Regions from separate parts of the Homo sapiens genome. Here region 2 is linked to region 1. Evidence: promoter capture Hi-C in human tissues and cell types (Jung and others, 2019). All regions are on one chromosome and are shown on one strand. Each heading gives the region's core, a stretch centred on a gene start or on the middle of the fragment in contact. The rest is flanking DNA. Distances are from core to core; before and after follow the strand shown.

The links. Contacts are between HindIII fragments. The study calls those that stand out against the background at their distance.
Region 2: a fragment that was not itself captured here is called in contact with the fragment with the promoter of SMPDL3A in region 1 in 3 of the 25 tissues and cell types used here (heart right ventricle, stomach and thymus).

Annotation. Positions count from the first base shown.
Region 1 is chr6:122,787,738-122,791,511 of GRCh38, forward strand. It overlaps SMPDL3A (sphingomyelin phosphodiesterase acid like 3A), which reads left to right and starts at 1,521. Exons shown (of 8, transcript NM_006714.5): 1 at 1,521-1,721. The coding sequence starts at 1,610. RefSeq lists enhancers at 1,331-1,832, 1,833-2,332, 3,436-3,605, silencers at 1,547-1,841, 2,947-3,241 and a cis regulatory region at 3,521. The HindIII fragment of the contact is 4,348 bases long and covers 1-3,774 here.
Region 2 is chr6:122,570,140-122,573,709 of GRCh38, forward strand. It overlaps a transcript of PKIB not described here. Among named protein-coding and RNA genes, the nearest start is that of PKIB, 38 kb to the right of the region's middle. The HindIII fragment of the contact is 3,594 bases long and covers 1-3,142 here.

The DNA of each region.
Region 1 (3,774 bases), core at 271-2,770:
ATGGAAGCACCTTGCTTCCCACTTCAAAGCCCGTTTCATGACACACACTCCCATTAAATTACATGGGATACAAAACAAAGCTTTCTATGCTGGGAAAGAAATACACTCTACAACATCTTTTTTGAGGTTAGTAATTATGGAAAGCATTTTCTTCTGCAAAGGAATTCCACGCCCTATAAATTTAAATTATTAGCTTGTCATCTCCAAGAGATCAGCATCCTCATAAACGGTGAGAGAAGGAACACAGAATACAGGATCCAGCACAGTTTCGGGATTCTGGCTTCTTTGCCAGACTTATCTTTGCTTACTTCTTTGTATAGACTTACTTCTTTGCCAGACTTATCTTTGCTTACTTCTTTGTATAGACTTACTTCTTTGCCAGAAGTATATTCAAAAAAGTTCCGTGGAAGCATCAAATCAACCACCTCTACTTATGATTTCCATGCATCTCTGGAATGCATAAAGCATGATTTCAGAACATGTTCTAATTCTAAGACCCTTCTCTTCCCGGCAGTTTAAAAAAAACAAAAAACAAAACGTCGTATCTTTGAGCATTGGTTTTCAAACATCACAATCACTTTAACATGACCTGAAATGCTTGTGAAAACACAAACTGCTGGGCTCCAGCAGGTTTCTGACTCAACAGGTCTAGGGTGGTGCCTGGGAATTTGCATTTCTAACTAGAGTTCCCAGGTGGTGCTAATGTTCCCAGTTCAGAGACTTCAATTCGAGATCCACTGCAGTATCCATAACTTTTGCTGATTTCCTTCAAATCATGATACTTCAGGGCTCTCTGCATCACCTCTACTGAGGAGCCCTACCCATTAAAGCTGGGGTAGGTTGGCCCAAGAATGGAACCGGGATCGTTGAGATTTCAGCACCCCAGCATTTTTTAGTGACTGAAATAATGAAAATTCTGATCAGGCTCCTGCTTGCTTGCACATTTTAACCACTCGCTTTTTGCCCAATATTCTCCTTGTTTCCACAATATAATTATAAACTGCTGAGGTACTGCTTCCTCGTCAAGAACAAAGAGGTTAACTTCAGGGTCACAAAAATGTTTGCAGAAGGGATGAATACCTCCAAGGGCTTTGCAACCAGCTGCGGATGCCTGGACGTCTAATTGCTCAAAGGTGTTATCTGAGACTGAAGAAACAGACTTTTCCCCTGGATTCTTTGAAAATCCCCCTCTCTTATTCTCTAGCAGAATAAAAACTCCCTGCTTTTTCCTTTTTACACACGGATTTGAGAGATCTTGTTCTCCCTCCTTCTGGCTTTTACTAAATTGAATGTCTTTCTCTATCCCCAAGCACCAGTATGTCAGTGTTTGACATCAACTGCACCACTGATACACGAGTCGGAATTTGAGCTTCTACAAGTACATTCCTTCCTAGGCCAAACACTGACGCTAAGAAATACGAGAACAGATCATCGCTAAACAGCAGCTGAAGGTCAGGCGAACTGACTCGCTGCGGAATCTGCCTTTGCACGTGATCAGTCGGACGTCTACACCCGCAGCCGTCTTCTGTCTCCGCCTCACCCTCAGGCCTGACGGTCCGAGTGGAGCTGCGGGACAGCCCGAACCTCCAGGTCAGCCCCGCGGCCCTCCATGGCGCTGGTGCGCGCACTCGTCTGCTGCCTGCTGACTGCCTGGCACTGCCGCTCCGGCCTCGGGCTGCCCGTGGCGCCCGCAGGCGGCAGGAATCCTCCTCCGGCGATAGGTGAGTTGTCCGCGACCCTTCTCTTCCCAGCCGGCAAAGAGCGCGGAGCGGCGGCGCCTGCGCACAGCAGGAGAAAGTGCGTGGGGGCAGCTGCCCCCGGCAGAGGCTCGGGCTAGCGGGGCCCCTGACGCGTCCGGCGTTGACCACGGCTGGTGGGCGCGGGGAGGGCGACCAAGGGACTACAGCGTTAGGGCGTCCAGCCGGGAGGCCGGGGCTGGGCGGGGGAAATGCCCTCGCCGGTGGGGGCGCTCCAAGGGCGCGTCGGCCGGATTTCGCCAGCCTGGCTTTTGTTTACATCCTGCATCTCAGTTGTTTTGTTCCTTGGGGAAGGAAGGAAAAGCTGCGGGACTCAAGGGAAGAGGAAGCTGGGAGTCCGATGTCCAGCACAGCAAGAGGCCCCTAATCGGTCCTGAATGGAGGGGGACTGCAGTTTCCCCACCAGCTCAGGGAAGTAAATTTCAGCGTGACTCACACTATCTTCTGTCTTGCTCGACCGAGATCAGTGGCTTTTTCTGCCACTCACCCAGCCAGAGCGCGAAAGCACCCTCGGGTAGACTCACCCCTTAGTCTACCGTGGAACTCACGGGGACTTCATTTCACCTGGATGTCCACTAGGTTTCCTGCGGGCGGGACCCATTTTATTCACTCCCAGCACTTAACACAGTGCCCGTTACAGTAGTGATTCTCTTAAGTGTGCCCTGGACCGGTGGCAGCAGCCGCCGCACTTAAAATTGTTAGCATTGCAAATTTCCAGCCCATCCCAGACCTACTGAATCTGAAACGCCGGCGTTGGGCTTCCACAGTATGCTGTTTAACCCACCCTCCGCATGATTCCTTTCGGCTAAGTTTGAGACTCACTGGTCCAGAATAGATACATTTTGGTGGGAGATTGTACAATGCCATCCGAGCCTCCAGTTCCAAAAATCAAGGTGCCCTCACCTCCTCAACTCCCTTTAAAAATAATTGCACTGTTAAGAGGAAAAACAAAATTAGAGAAGTGGGGTTCTGTTTTCTTTTAGGGGAGAGTTGTCCCTGAGACTCGGTAGCAGCACCTAGTGCTGAAACCTCTTTCGCTCCCTCTGTGCTTTCTCAGGACTTGGGAGCGCTCTAGGGCAAATATCTTCTCTTTGAAGGCCAAGTCCTCACGACTCAGCTGTCAGGTCTGAAGCAAAAACTGTAAATCTGGTTTCCGAACTGTGGCAAATGTCAGTCATTACAAGAAATTTCCCCAAAATGTTTATGTATACTGGTTTCTGCTTTTATTACGGCTTAGCTTGTGTTCCTTTAATTATGTGACCGGTTAGGGTTTTGAAATAAAATGTCTCACGTTGCTTGAGGCCACACAATGGCAAATTCACCTGTGTTTTAAAGAGGCCTGAATGAGCGCTTTCTGGGGACTCTGTGAGTCTTCACACCTCCTGTTTGGGAAACTGCAAGGTTGAATCCCCTCCTACTAAAGGGGAAGGAAGAGGGGTTACTGGAGTTCAGTGGTCTGAAGTGTTACTGGAGTCACTGGAGTTCGAAAGTCTGAAGTGTTACTGGAGTTCAAAGGTCTGAAGTGTTCACTCAGCAGTTTCACAATTCTCCTTGTTTGTAATATTTTGCGTATTTTCCACTTGATGTGACAACTCTCCTGCCTCCTCTCAGCCCCACATGCTTGGACTTCCTTTCAGCATCCACCCTGCCTGGCTACTGCTTTCTTGTTTTGTGTTTTTGCGTTTAAATTCCCAGTCTTAGTTTTCTGCCCTGTCAAGTCCTGGTGGTCGGACGACAGAAGTTCTAGGAAGCTTCACCTGTGTGTTTTTGGCTACAGTTCTTTAGATTGAGTAGGCTGGGACTGGCTTGTGTATTGGTACTGTTAAAGCAAACTAAATACGGCCTGAGAAGGACTCCTTACTTCTATATTTGAATCCTTGTGAATGAACTGTAACCTAGCTTAATAGTCAGATGAGACTGAAAACCTAACTTAAGAGTATGCACTGGTAACAATAGCTAAGTTTGGCCAATCCCAGCAGCCATACTTCAACCATTCATATACTGCTGAGTGTTCAAA
Region 2 (3,570 bases), core at 96-2,595, 220 kb before region 1:
TAGAATATCAACATTCTTACAGATGAAAAGAGGAGCCTGTCTAACCTGAATAGCCAGAACACTGGGATAGAAATGAAGCTGGGAAGTAGATGCCTTCCCTGCTGGCCTGGCAGGGTAGCTGAGGTGCTCCCACCTTTCAACCTGATAAAACCTCTGTACATCTAATTGAGGGCTTCCCAGCCACCTTCAACAAGGCTGGGACGTCTGCCCACCATTGGGTATTACATCTACCCACCTGCTTTAGCTACAACCAGTGCCTACCCAGGGATAACTCCCCTACTAACCTGAAGCCTGGATCATCAAATCAGTAAATAAAACACTGGAGAAAAATTAAGTAAATAAAAAAGCATACACCATGGGAGAATGAGATAAGCTTCAAAAATCCTTGCCATTCCAACCCCATATGAGACAGTGAACTTGCCCACACACCATGAACATAACTACTACAACAAGCATCTGGAAAAGCCAGTGCACAAAGACCCTCTATAACTAAGGAAGTCATACAGAGTCTTTCCTGCTAAAAGCACCAAGAATTAAATTAGCCTGCAATAAACTATAAACGTTAAAGTCAGATTCCTAAGAGGGAAAAAAAGAAATTAAATAAAAACCACAGTCAAATAAAAATAAATTCAAGAAAATTTTGAAGAAAAGTCTATCCAAATGAAAAGGAACCAGAAAAGTAATTCTGGTAATATGACAAAAGAGAGTTCTGTAACACCCCCAAAAGATCAAACTAACTCCCCAAAAATTGCTTCAAACCAAGATGAAATCTTTGAAATACCAGACAAGTCAGAAGGTTGATTATTAAGCTACTCTAGGAAATAACCAGAGAAAGGTGAAAACCAACATAAAAAATGTTTTAAAATTCAGGATATGAATGAAAAAATTTTCAGAGAGATGGATATCATAAAAAAAAACAATCAGAACTTCTGGAAATAAAAGACATACTTAGAGAAATACAAAATTTAGTGAAAATTTCAATATTAGACAAGAACACGTAGAATAAATAATTTCAGAGCTTGAAGACAAGGCTTTTGAATTAACCCAATCAGACAAAGATAAAGAAAAAAGAAGCAAAAGAAATGAACCAAGTTTCCAAGAAATATGGGATTATGTAAAATGGCCAAACCTAAGAATAATTGATGTTCCTGAGGGGGAAGAGAAGTCTAAGAGTTTGGAGAACTTATTTTAAGGAATAATTGAGGAAAACTTCCCTTGCCTTGCTAGATATACAGATATCAAAATACAAGAAGCTTAGATTCCTGGGAAATTCCATTGCAAAAAGATTATCACCAAAGCACGTAGTCATTAAGCTATCTAAAGCCAACATGAAGAAAAGGATTTTGGTAGCTGTGAGACAAAAGCATCAGGTAACCTATAAAAGAAAAACTATCAGACTAACAGCAGATTTCTCAGCAGAAACCTTACAAGCCAGAAGGGATTGGGGTCCTATCTTTACCCTCCTTAAATTGTCAGCCAAGAATTTTGCATTCTGCAAAACTAAGCTTCATAAATGGAGAGATAAAGTATTTTTCAACAAATGCTGAGGAAATTTTCCACTACCAAACCAGCACTACAATAAATGCTAAATGGAGTTCCATATCTTGAAACAAAACCTTGATCTATATCAAAATGGAACCTCCTTAAAGCATAAATCTCACAGGGCCTATAAAACATTAACATAATGAAGAAAAACAAAGTATCTAGGTAAAAACTAATATGATGAATAGAACAGTACTTCACATCTTAATATTCAGGTTGAATGTAAATAGCCTAAATGCTTCACTTGAAAAGGTACAGAATAGCAGAATGGATTAAAAAACCGCTAACCAAATGTCTACTGTCTTCAAGAGGCCCATCTAACACAAAAGGACTCACATAAACTCATGGTTAAGGGGTGGAAGAAGGTATTCCACGCAAATGGAAACTGACACATAAACTCATGGTAAAGGGGTGGAAGAAGGTATTCCACTCAAATGGAAACTGAAAGCAAGCAGGAGTCACTATTCTTACATTAGACAAACCAGACTTTGAAACAATACAATAAAAAAAGACAAAGAAGGACATTATATAATAACAAAATGATTAGTTCAACAAGAAGATATTACAATCCTAAATTTATATGCACCTAACACAGGAGCTCCAAGATTTATAAAACAATTACTGCTAGATCTAAAAGCAACTCACCCTCCAAACTATACAAATACATGGAAATTAAATAATCTGCATTTGAATAATTTTGGGGTTAATAATGAAATTAAGATGGAAATTGAAAATTATTGGAAATGAATGATAAAGTGACACAACTTATCAAAACCTCCGGGATACAGCAAAAGTAGTACCAAAAGGAAAGCTAATAGTATTAAATGCCTACATCAAAAAGTCTGAAACAGCAAAAATAGACAACCTAATGTCACACCTCAAGGAAATAGAGAAACAATAACAAAGCAAATCCAAATGTAGCAGAAGGAAAAAAAAAACAAAGATCAGAGCAGAACTAAATGAAATTGAAACAAAAAAAAAAACGATAAATGAAACAAAAAGCTGGTTCTTTGAAAAGATAAACAAAATTGATAAACTATTAGTGAGATTAACCAAGAAAAGAAGAGAGAACATTCAAATAAGCTGAATTAGAAATGAAACTGGCAATATTACAACAGATACTACAGAAATAAAAAAATAACATTCAAGGCTAGTATGAACACCTTTATACACACAAACTAGAAAATCTAGAGGAAATGGATAACTTCCTGGAAACATGTAATTCTCCTAGATCAAATCAGGAAGAACTAGAAACCCTGAACAGACCAGTAACAAGCAGCAAGATTAAATCAGTAATGAAAAAATTGCCAACACAGAAAATTTCAGGACCAGATGGATTCATAGCTGAATTCAAAGAATATTCAAAGAAGAGTTGGCATCAATTCTACTGAAACTATTCGAAAAGATAAAGAGGGAATCCTCCCTAAGTTATTCTGAAGCCAGTATAACACTAATACCAAAACCAGGAAAGGACACAAGAGAAAAAGAAAACTGCAAACCAATATCTCTGATAAAAACAGATGCAAAATCCTCAACAAAATACTAGCTAACTGAATCCAAAAGCACATCCAAAAGATAATACATCATGATTGGCTGGGCGCAGTGGCTCATGCCTGTGATCTTATCACTTAAACCCAGAAGGTTAAAACCAGCCTGGACAACATGGCAAGACCCCATCTCTACAAAAAATACAAAAATTCGCTGGTAGTACACACATGTTCTCCCAGGTACTCGCGAGGCTGAGGTGGAAGGATCGCTTGAGCCCATGAAGCAGAGGTTGCAGTAAGCTGAGATTGTGCCACTGTCCTCCAGCCGAGGCAACAGAGTTAGACTCTGTCTCAAAAAAAAAAAAAAAAGAAAAAGAAAAAAAAAAGAAGAAAAAAGAGATAATACATCACGATCAAGTGGGTTTTATCTCAGGGATGCAGGGATGATTCAACATATGCAAGTCAATATATGTGATACATCACATAAACAGGATTAAAAACAAAAATAATTATCTCAATAGATGCAGAAAAAGCATTTGAC